4 separate regions of the Homo sapiens genome follow, and all the other regions are linked to region 2. The links are contacts of gene promoters, found by promoter capture Hi-C in human tissues and cell types (Jung and others, 2019). All regions are on one chromosome and are shown on one strand. The core of a region is centred on a gene start or on the middle of the fragment in contact, and the rest is flanking DNA. Distances in the headings are between cores, read along the strand shown. Region 1 has its middle 30 kb from the start of SCART1. Region 2 holds the start of CALY (calcyon neuron specific vesicular protein). Region 3 overlaps LOC105378575 (a long non-coding RNA gene). Region 4 overlaps SCART1 (scavenger receptor family member expressed on T cells 1).

The links. Contacts are between HindIII fragments. The study calls those that stand out against the background at their distance.
Region 1: a fragment that was not itself captured here is called in contact with the fragment with the promoter of CALY in region 2 in 1 of the 25 tissues and cell types used here (dorsolateral prefrontal cortex).
Region 3: a contact is called between a fragment that was not itself captured here and the fragment with the promoter of CALY in region 2, in 2 of the 25 tissues and cell types used here (IMR-90 fibroblasts and aorta).
Region 4: a fragment that was not itself captured here is called in contact with the fragment with the promoter of CALY in region 2 in 2 of the 25 tissues and cell types used here (lymphoblastoid cells and spleen).

Annotation. Positions count from the first base shown.
Region 1 is chr10:133,482,302-133,485,170 of GRCh38, forward strand. No RefSeq gene overlaps it. Among named protein-coding and RNA genes, the nearest start is that of SCART1, 30 kb to the left of the region's middle. The HindIII fragment of the contact is 7,104 bases long and covers 1-2,869 here.
Region 2 is chr10:133,335,555-133,338,254 of GRCh38, forward strand. CALY (calcyon neuron specific vesicular protein) reads right to left here and starts at 1,342. Exons shown (of 6, transcript NM_015722.4): 1 at 1,280-1,342. All of the region lies in intron 5 of ZNF511-PRAP1 (ZNF511-PRAP1 readthrough), which reads left to right. RefSeq lists an enhancer at 1-272. The HindIII fragment of the contact is 49,503 bases long and covers 1-2,700 here.
Region 3 is chr10:133,498,379-133,501,389 of GRCh38, forward strand. The region is part of intron 4 of LOC105378575 (a long non-coding RNA gene); the gene reads right to left. Among named protein-coding and RNA genes, the nearest start is that of CYP2E1, 27 kb to the right of the region's middle. The HindIII fragment of the contact is 6,536 bases long and covers 1-3,011 here.
Region 4 is chr10:133,463,971-133,466,971 of GRCh38, forward strand. It overlaps SCART1 (scavenger receptor family member expressed on T cells 1), which reads left to right. Exons shown (of 12, transcript NM_001396050.1): 7 at 636-941; 8 at 1,136-1,204; 9 at 1,281-1,595; 10 at 2,265-2,411. Among named protein-coding and RNA genes, the nearest start is that of SCART1, 12 kb to the left of the region's middle. The HindIII fragment of the contact is 5,558 bases long and covers 1-3,001 here.

The DNA of each region.
Region 1 (2,869 bases), core at 4-2,503, 150 kb after region 2:
CATTCTGTCATTAACTTATTATCTTTGTTTAATTGATTATCCTTGTGTCCATCACCAATCCATCTATTTTATGCATTTCAAAGCCAGTTGCAAACATCATTTCACTTCTTAAATACTTCTGCGTGCATATCATTAAACATTTGTTTATAGTTATTTTTCCTTTTAAGGTAATATTTTCAAACAACAAAATGCATAAATAAGGGTGTACGTTTGCTGAGTAATGTAATTATCAAATCAGGTGCCCATGTGTGATGATCAAATCGGGTACCCGTGTGTGATGATCAGATCCTTCTGTCTAATTGTATGTTTGTACCCCTTAACAACCTCTGTTCATCCCCTTCCCCCACACTCTTCCCAGCATCTGGTAACTATCATTTTACCCTCTACCTCCATGAGATCAACTTTTTAAGCTCCCACATGTGAGTGAGAACATGCAATATTTGTCTTTCTATGGCCAGCTTATTTCACTTGTCATAATGACCTCCAGTTCCATCCATGTTGCTGCACATGATAAGATTTCATTCTTTTTTATGGCTGAATAGTATTCCATTGTGTATATATACCACATTTTCCTTATCCCTTCATTCATTGATGGACACTTAGGTTGATTCCATATCTTGGCTATTGTGAATAGTGCTGCAATAAACATGGGGGTACAGGTATCCCTTTGATATACTGATTTCTTTTCCTTTGGATAAATACCCAGTGGGATTGCTGGTTCATATGGTAGTTCTATTTTTAGTTTTTGAGAAACCTCCATACTGTTTGCCATGATGGCTGTACTAATTTACATATCCACTAACAGTGCACGAGAGTTCCCTTTTATCTGCGCTCTTGCCGCCATTTGTTATTTTTTTGTCTTTTTGATAATAACCGTCCTAACTGGGATGAGATGACATCTCATTGTGGTTTTGATTTGTGTCTCCCTGATGATTCTTGATGTTGAGCATTTTTTTTACATACCTGTTGTCTATTTGCATGTCTTCTTTTGAGAAATGTCTATTCAGATCATTTGCCCATTTTTAAATCTTTTTTTTTCTGTTGAGATGTTGCAGCTTCTTTTATATTCTGGATATTAATCACTTCTTGGATGATTGGTTTGCAGATATTTTCTCCCATTCTATAGGTTGTCTCACCACTCTTTTGATTGTTTCCTTCACCATGTAAAAATCTTTTAGTTTGATATAACACTATTTGTTAATTTTTGCTTTTGTTGCTTGTGATTTCAAGGTCTTATTCATAAAATCTTTTTTTTCAGACCAATGTTCTGAAGCATTTACCCTATGTTTTCTTCTAGCAGTTTTATAGTTTTGGGTCTTACATTTAGATCTTTGATTCATTTTGAGTTGATTTTTGTATAGAGTAGAAAGGGGTCTAGTTTTATTCTTCTGCATGTGAATATCTAGTTTTCCCAGTACCATTTATTAAAGAAGCTGTCCTTTCCTCAGTGAATATTCTTGGCACCTTTGTCAAAAATCAGTTGGCTGTAGATATGTGGATTAATTTCTGGGTTCTCCATTCTGTTCCATTGGTCTATGTGTCTGTTTTTATGCCAGTACCATGCCATTGCTGTTTTGGTTACTGCAGCTTTGTAGTATATTTTGAGGTCTGCTAATGTGATGATAGCTTCAGCTTTGTTCCTTTTGCTCAGGATTGCTTTGGCTATTCGGGATATTTTGTGATTCCATACAAATTTTATGATTTTTTTTCTAGTTCTGTAGGAATGTCATTGGTATTTTGGTAGAGATAGCACTGAATCTGTAGATTGCCTTGGGTAGTATTGTCATTCTCCTATCCATAAGCATGAGATATCTCTCTATTTGTATCCTCTTCAATTTTGTTATCAATATTTTGTAGTTTTCCCTGTAGAGATCTTTTACTTCCTTGGCTAAATTTGTTCCTAGGCACTGTTTTTTTGTATCTATTGTAAATGGGATTGCTTTCTTGATTTCTTTTTCAGCTAGTTCATTGTTCATGTGCCTTAATCCATTTGTGTTGCTATAAAGGAATACCTGAGGTTGGGTAATTTATGAAGAAATTAGGTTTATTTGGCTCACAGTTCTGCAGGCTGTAACAGAAGCATGGCACTAGCATATGCTTCTGGTGAGGGCCTCAAAGCTTCCACTCATGGAAGAAGGCAAGACGGAGCTGCCTCACATGGTGAGGTGAAGGGAGAGAGAAAGATGGAAGAAAGGTGCCAGGCTTTTAAAATATAATCAGTTCTTGCTCATTACCATGAAGATGGCACCAAGACATTCATTAGGGATCTGCTCCCATGCTCCAAATACCTGCCATTAGGCCCCACCTCCAACATTGGGGAACAAATTTCAACATGAGATTTGGAGGGGACAAATATCTAAACTGTATTGTCACGTATAGAAATGCTACTGATTTTTGTATATTAGAATCCTGCAACTTTACTAAATTTATCAGTACTAAGAGTTAGAACTTTCTTTTCCTCTAAGCACTGAAACAAGGATGCCCCCCCGACTTTTCTTCATTCAATAAGCTGTTAACTGTGGGTTTGTCATATATATTTATTATGTTGAGTTACTTTGATTATATATTTAATTTATTAAGAGTTTTTATCATGAAGGAGATGTTGAATTTTATCAAAACATTTTTCTGCATCTATTGAGATGATCATGTTTTTTTCCCTTCATTCTACTGATGTATGTATGATGTTTGTTGATTTGTGTAGGTTGAACTATCCTTGCATTCCTGGGATAAAGCCCACTTGAGCATGGTTATTGTTTTTTGATGTGTTGTTTAATTCAGTTTGCTAGTATTTTGTTGAGGATTTTTGCATCTATGTACACAAGAGATATTGGCCTGTAGTTTTCTTTTTGCTGTTGTTATGTCCTTGTCT
Region 2 (2,700 bases), core at 92-2,591:
GTTCCGGGCCCAGCGCCCCGGGCGGAATGCGGGGTTGGAAAGGGGGGACTAGCCTGTGTGTGGGGTCCAACCCCCCCACCCCACACACCAGACCTTCCCTTTGCATTGCTGCGTCATGGGGGCCTCCTCCCACGGATGACACGCGGCTCGTGGAACTGGGGGGCCGCCTCTGCTTCTCCTCCCGGCCCCTCCCTGCACCTGCGCTGTCGCGGCATCTTCTGCGGGTCCCCTGCGCCCCACCCGCCGCGCTCTGGCAGGGAGGCAGTGCCCGGCTCCTGTCTCTGGGGCGGGGAAGGCGTGGGATGCTGATGGCAGATGGGTGGGGGCGCGGGTGAGTGAGGCCGTGCAGATGGACAGATGGATGGCGGGGGCGGGGGTGCAGGCTCTCAGTCGAAAGTCCACGGAAGCTCGGCTGGAGGTCACGTCACAGACTCGCTTCCGCATGCGCCCCCCCCAACCATGGAATGCTGCGTCACGCTGGGGGGTGCGCGCAGGTGGGCTTGTGCGGGCCGGGCACCAGCGCGTGTGACTGCGGATCTGAGGGTCCCGCCCAGCCCCCGCGGGCGCCACCGCAGCCTCCCGCCCCTGGCGCTGCAGGGGGCTGTGGCTGCCCCGCTTATTAAAAGGCAGCTGCACTGCGGGGTCGGCGCAGCCCCTCGGAGGGGAGTGGGCGCGCAGCTGCTCCCGCTTCCAGCCCAGCCACCTGTGGCCCCGCACCCGAGCCTGCTGCAGGTGGTTCCGGAGCCGCGCCCCTCCCGGCCTCCTGGCCACCTCTTGCCTGTCACGCAGACGCCCCCATCAAGCCCACCGCCCACCCCCAACCCCCGTGCGGGCAGCGGCTCCTCGGTGCTCTGGTCCGACGCCCCTTCTGTCGCCCTCCCCACCCCGCCTCCGGCGGACAGAGCTGGGCGGGAGCTGGGACTGGTACCCCCTCCCCACCTCGGAGACACCCTTAACTCCAGGCTGCGATCCTCGTGCCGGGGCCCCGCCGTCACGGGAAGCCTGGAGACCACCGCCCTCGGGTCCGCGGGGTCGGACTGGCCTGGGGCAGCCAGAGGAGGCCCGAGGGAGGAGGGCGGCCGTGCAGCGCGCCCTGCACACTCGCACCCGCACACGCGCCTCGCACACACGCACTCACACCCTCATCCGCACGCGCGCCACGCACAAGCGCACTCGCGAGCACACGCACCTCGCACACACACCCGCACACGCGCCTCGCACCCCCGCACCCCTTCGGGCCCCCCGCCCACATTCTGCAAGAAATGTGGAAATAGCTCACAGGCGGCTCCACTGGCAGCTGCTGCAGGACGCGGTCGGGGAGGACGACGATGCGGATGTGGATGCGGAGGATGCGGTTCCAGACGCTTCGCGGCCGGGCGGGGCGGGGGCTGCAGCTGCGAGACCGAGGCTGTGGTCGCCATGGAAACGCGGCTAGAGGCGGGGCCTCGACTCTGGTCCCGCACCCTCTACCCCCACCCACCGCCCCGGCTAGGGAGCCGCGCATGCGCCCCTCAGACCCTGCTCGGGCCTCACCACACACCTCATACACACACCTGATGCACACACACCTGACACATCCCCAGAAACCACACCTCGAACACCAGACACATCCAAACACACACCTCACACACATCCCAGACACACACCTCACACAAACACCCCCCACACACACACCTCACAAACACCCCAAACACCTGACACACACACACCCCAGAATCACACATCTCGAACACCAGACACATCCAAACACACCCCAGACACACACACCCCAGACACACACCCAACACACACCCGACACACACACCACACACACCTCACACACACCCCAGACACACACACACCTGACACACCCGACACACCCCCAGAATCACACACCTCAAACACCACATTCAAACACACACCTCACACACACCCGACACACACCTGACACACACGTGACACACACACCTGACACACCCCCAGAAACATACACCTGACACACACCTCACACACACCCAACAACACATATACCTGATACACACCCCAGGCACACATTTGACACACACACCCCACACACCTGACACACATACCCCAGAAACACCTCAAACAACAGATACATCCAAACACACACCTCACACACACCTGACACACACACCCTAGTAATACACACATCAAATACCAGACATCCAAACACACATCTCACACACACCTCAGACACACACACAGCTGACACACACCTGACAGCCCCCAGAAACACACATTTCAAACACCAGACACATCCAGACACACACCTCACACACACCCCAGACACACACACACCTGAGACACACCCCACACACCTAACCCGCACCCCACACACCTGACCCACACCCCAGAAACACACATCTGACACACACCCCAGACACACACACCTGACACTCTCCCCAGAAACACCTCAAACACCAAATACATCTAAACACACAATTCACACACACCCCAGATATACCTCACACACACACCCCAGACATACCTCACACACACACACCTGACACCCCAGAAACACACCTCACACACCAGACACACCCACACATCTCACATACACGACACGCACCTGACACCCACCCCAGAAACACACATCTCACACACCAGACACCCAAACACACCTCACACACACCCCTGACACACACCCCACACCTGACACACACACCTGACCCACACCCCAGAAACACACACCTTAAACAG
Region 3 (3,011 bases), core at 28-2,527, 160 kb after region 2:
CTTTGTTCACGGGTCCATTGGGCAATGACAGAGGTGCTTGGGAAAGAGGCTGAATGGTGTCCACAGAAGTGGTCATCCTATCCACTTGATTATTAAAATCCTCCTCTGCTGAGGTCACCCATTGGTGAGCACTCACATGGGATACAAATATCTTCACAGTTTTTGACCACTCAGAGAGGTCCATCCACATACCTCTTCCCCACATTTCTTTGTCACAATTTCCGATCATTCTTCTTTCAAGTCCCTGACCATCCAACCAAACCATTAACTACAGCCCATGAATCAGTATATAATCACACATCTGGCCATTTCTCCTTCCATGCAAAGTGCACAACCAGGTTCACTGCTCTTAGTTCTGCCCACTGGGAAGATTTTCCTTCCCTACTGTCCTTCAGGGATGTCCTAGAAAGGGGCTGTAGTGCTGCAGCTCTCCACTTTTGGGTGGTGCCTGCATATCATGCGGAACCATCCACGAACCAGGCCCAACTAATTATAGGGAACTTCCCATGAGGCCGTTGGGGCAGGCTCGGGGAGAGAAGGAAGGGTGGCAGGAGTGGAGACCATGGGCATTTGAACCACTTCCTCATGTAACTTACTTGTGCCTTCAGGACCTGCTGGAACCTGATCACATATATACCACTTCCATCCTGTGGTCATTTCCCTAGTGCCACTTCCATTTGATGACGGAATGCTGCTGTGCACAACCCACTTAATGGCTAGATGGGTCAGAAAGCACCCAGTTTATGATAGGCAGTTCAGGTCGCGTGGTGACTTGGTGACCTACAGTCAAACGTTCAGTTTCCACCAAAGCCCAGTAACAGGCTAAGAGCTGTCTCTCAAAAGGAGAGTAGTTATCTGCAGAAGATGGCAGGGCCTCGCTCCAAAATCCTAGAGGCCTCCACTGTGATTCACCTATGGGAGCCTGCCAAAGGCTCCAAACAGCATGCCTATCTGCCACTGACACCTCAAGCACCATTGGATATGCTGGGCCATATGGCCCAAGTGGCAGAGCAGCTTGCACAGCAGCCTGGACCTGCTGCAGAGCCTTCTCTTGTTCTGGACTCCACTCAAAACTGACAGCTTTTCAGGTCACTCAATAAATGGGCTGGAGTAACACACCCAAATGAGGAATGTGTTGCCTCCAAAATCCAAATAGGCCCACTAGGCATTGTGCCTCTTTCTTGGTTGTAGGAGGGGCCAAATGCAGCAACTTATCCTTCACCTTAGGAGGAATATCTCTACAGGCCCCATACCACTGGACCCTTAGAAATTTTACTGAGGTAGAAGGTCCCTGAATTTTAGGCAGATACACTTCCCATCCTCTGGCATGCAAATGTTTCACCAATAAGTCCAGTGTTTGCTACTTCTTGCTCACTGGATCCAATCTGCATAATGTCATCAATGTAATGGACCAGTGTGATATCTTTTGGAGGCAAAAAGCGATCAAGTTCTCTCTGAATAAGATTATGACACAAAGCCAGATAATTCATATACCCCTGAGGTAGGACAGTAAAGGTATATTGCTGGCCTTGACAGCTGAAGGCAAATTGTTTCTGGTGGGCCTTATGGACAGGAATGGAGAAAAAGGCATTTGCCAAGTCAATGGTTGCACACAAAGTACCAGGAGATGTGTTAATTTGCTCAAATAATGAAACCACATCTGGTACAGCAGCTGCAATTGGAATCATCACTTGGTTAAGCTTATGGTAATCCACTGTCATTCTCCAAGATCCATCTGTCTTCTGCACAGGCCAAATGGGAGAGTTGAATGGGAATGTGGTGGGAATCACCACCCCTGAGTCTTTCAAGTCCTTGGTGGTGGCACTAATCTCTGCAATCCCTCCAGGGACACAATATTGTTTTTGATTTACTATTTTTCTAGGTAGAGGCAGCTCTAATGGCTTTCATTTGGCCTTTCTCACCACAGTAGCCGTCACCCTACCAGTCAGGGAGCCAATGTGAAGGTTCTGCCAGCTGCTAAGTATGTCTATGCCAATTATGCATTCTCGCACTAGGGAAATGACCACAGGATGAGTCCAGAGACCCACTGGACCCACTGTAAGTCAGACCTGAGCTAAAACTTCATTAATTACCTGACTCCCATAAGCCCCTACTTTAACTGGAGGACCACAATGACGTTTTGGGTCCCCTGGAATCCATGTCAGCTCAGAGCCAGTGTCCAGTAGTCCCTGAAATGTCTGATCATTTCCCTTTCCCCAGCGCACAGTTATCCTGGTAAAAGGCCAGAGGTCTCCTTGGGGAAGGATGGGAGAAAGATTCACTGCATAAATTGCTGGTAATGTAGTAGGGTCCTTCCTAATGGGAACTTGGCTTCCCCTTCATTCAAGTGGTTCTGGATCTGTAAACTGGCTCAAGTCTGGAAATTGATTAAGAGGCCATGATTCTACATTTTTATAATTCAAATTAGTCTTTTATCCATTCGACCTAGAAGTTTTCTGCTTGTATAAATTAAGTAGGAATGCAGTAGGCTTTCTATCAATTTCACTTCTAGGAACACCATGATTAATTAGCCAATGCCAGAGCTCTACACGAGTCAGACTATTCTGATTGCCGCTTTGCCTCTGCTGTCCATTATGATAGCTATGCCCACCTTGCTTTTGATAGCTGAGTGCCACCACTTGGCCCCTGCCACCTCGGGATCCAATTGTTACCATTATATTTAAGTTTTGTAGTTGAGTGACTGTGGCTCCCACCATTAGATCTGACATACAGAGAAAAGCAATTGCAAGGCTCTTCAAAGATTCAGGTGCTGCCCTCACAAATCTATTTTGCAAGGCGTTGGTCAAGGGTGTATCTTCTGGACCCTCCCAGCTGGGATGAGTAGGTCTAAAGTGACTAATCCACTCCACCATCCCAATCTCCCTAAGCCTTTGGATCCCTTCCTCTACATTAAACCAAGGGAGATCAGGCATTTCCACCTCGCTCACAATGAGCCATCTTTTAATCCATATTTCAGCAAACCAATCAAACAAACTATTAGAACCTTTTTT
Region 4 (3,001 bases), core at 1-2,500, 130 kb after region 2:
CTCCCCCAACCCTTCCCAACCTCTAGTATCCTCTGTTCTGCTTTTCACTTCTAGGAGATCAACATTTTTAAGCTTCCATTTATGAGTGAGAACATGTGCTATTTAGCTTTCTAGCTTGTTTCACTTAACACAGTGTCCTCCAGTTCCATCCGTATTGCTGCAAATGATGGGATTTTATTGTTTTTTTAATGGCTGAGTAACTCCATTGTGTATATGCTGTATTTTCTCTATCCATGTATCTGTTGTTGGACATTACACTCATTCCACATCTTGGCTATTGTCAATAGTGCTGCGGTGAACCTGGGCGTGCAGTGAACCTGGGTGCTGCAGTGAACCTGGGCGTGCAGTGAACCTGGGCGTGCAGTGAACCTGGGTGCTGCAGTGAACCTGGGCGTGCAGTGAACCTGGGCGTGCAGATGTTTCTGCTGGGCTGATTTCATTTCCTCTGGGTCTATACACAGCAGTGGGATTGCTGGATTGTGTAGTAGCTCTAGTTTAAATTTTCTGAAGAAGCTCTATACTGTTTCTATAACTGATCTCAGTGCTGGGACCCCTTGAGCTTAGCCCCCTCCTTCTGAGACTGCCCATGGTGCCCAGGCAGGGCACTCCCTGGCCTGACTGTGCTTGCCTTGCAGAGTCGGTGGCTCTGAGGCTGCGAGGTGGGACCTGCTGCTGTGCTGGGTGGCTGGACGTGTTCTACAATGGGACCTGGGGCGCCATGTGCAGCAATGCCCTGAAGGACCTCTCCTTGTCCATCATCTGCAAGCAGCTGGGGTGTGGGGTGTGGGGAGTGGGGCTGGCTGGAGAACAGGCCCTTCCCCTCTGCGGGCACCGGGACCGCCTGGGTGGACAACATCGAGTGCCGCAGGCTGCCCAACTCCACTCTGTGGCAATGCCCTTCCCACCCATGGCACCCGCACTCTTGCGACCTTCGAGAGCAGGTCTGGATTACCTGTGCAGGTGGGCATTAGAGGTCTCTGGGGGTGCCTGGGAAGAGGTTTATCTGTCCTGACAGGTCACTTACAGGGGATGCCATTCAATCAGAGCCTGGGCCTGGGGGTCACTAGGATCCACAGCCTTCCTTGTGAAGCTTCTCTGGGCACCGAAGCTCTCAGAGCTGCTGTTTAACCCGCAGGATTGTCAGAGGACAGGCCACAGGCTGCTGGGGAGCCCCTCAACTGCTCCTCCTGGCTCGGCTGCCCAGGTACCCCTCTGTCCTTGTCGCTGTCCTCCTTCCCATCCCGGTCCAGCCCCCGCAGTGACCGCAGCCCCTTTTGCAGAGGAGGGCGCACTGCGCGTGCGCGGGGGCGAGGACCGCTGCTCCGGGCGCGTGGAGCTCTGGCACGCGGGCTCCTGGGGCACCGTGTGCGACGATGGCTGGGACCTGGCGGACGCGGAGGTCGTGTGCCGCCAGCTGGGCTGTGGTCGGGCCGTCGCCGCCCTGGGGGCCGCCGCCTTTGGCCCTGGCTCCGGGCCCGTGTGGCTGGACGAGGTGGGGTGCCGGGGCAGCGAGGCGTCCCTGTGGGGCTGCCCTGCGGAGCGGTGGGGACGCGGAGACCGCGCGCACGAGGAGGACGCGGGCGTGCGCTGCTGGGGTGAGTGGGGGGCGGTGGGAAGTCGGTCATGGGGCCGGCAGAGGGCGCTGGGATGGAGTCAGTCTTGAGTGTCACTTCGGTGGGCAGGAGAGCTCGCCCAGGTGTTAGTGGGTTGGTTTCCACCCTGGGATTTTTCTGGGATAGGCTGATTTGCTGTGGAGGCCTGTTTGGGACATGCACTCCCTGGGGTTTCCCCCTAATCTTTTTTGGGAATTCCCTTTTGTTTATTCCAATCCTTGTTCATTTCGGGTATGTGTCACCTGGGTGTTGGCAGGTTCAGTTGTTCCCTGCACCTCATTCTCTTTGCAGAAAACAAACAGTTAACCACAGTGATGACCTTAGCAAAAGCAGCAGCAGTGGTAACTTTCCCTGAGCCACTCCCATTCTCTGTGCTCTGGTCACCTCTTGTGACTTGCCCTGGCATCTGCCTGGGGGCCATGTTTTACCAAGGAAGGGGGCTGTCCCTTGAAAGCAGACACCCCCAGTGGACACTAGCCATTTTGGGGTGCTCTGCACAGCTGAAACCAGCAGATGCCCCCCCAGCACTTCCGACTCGCAGGTCCTCCATGAGGGAGAGGGTGTGGCTGGGCCCTTGGAGCCACCCTGTCCTGCTGAGGGTGTGCAGGTCCCCCCCACCACCCAGCTGGCTCAAGACCTCTCCTTTCTCAGAGCCTGGCCCAGGCCCCCCACTGCCTGCAGCTCCCTTCCGGACATTCTGGGTGGTCAGTGTCGTCCTGGGATCCCTTCTTGGTCTTCTCCTTCTGGGCCTCATGGCTTTTCTGATTCTGCCTCGAGTCACACAAGCCATGCAGAGGGGTAAGCGTGAGCCCACCCTGATCCCATCAACTGGTGTGCAGGAGCAAGAGCAGCTCACAGCTCCAGCCTGGTGTTGGGGTCTGGGCAGGCGGGGTGCCCCACAGCAGTCAGGCCTATGCAGACCTACCCCCAAAGTCCAAGGAACTGAGAAGCTGAAGAAAGAGGCAGACAAATCCAGTTCCTTAGAAAGAAACACTTAAAAGGGACTTATGAAGACAAGCCATGTCCATGCCTTGGATGGCCTCTAGCTGAGACGGTGGATGCCCATATTATCATCCCTCACAACTAGAACTTATATACCTCAGGGGAAGGGGACATGTAGGACAATTGCTTAAGGGCAGGATTTACAGTGAATGCATGCTCTTATGCAAGGAACAGTAGATAAAATAGAAATCTTAGAGGCCTTCCCGGAACTGGAGTTGGTCAGAAGTCAACACGGTGGATCAGCATTCAGGGCAGAGTTGCTTCAGCCTGCAGGCTGATCTCACTTAGGGCTCATTTTATTGGCCAGAGAGAGTGGCAGACATCTGCATCAGCCTCCAGCCCTCAAGACTGAGCTCAACCCTAGAAGGTTCCCCCAGGCAGCACAT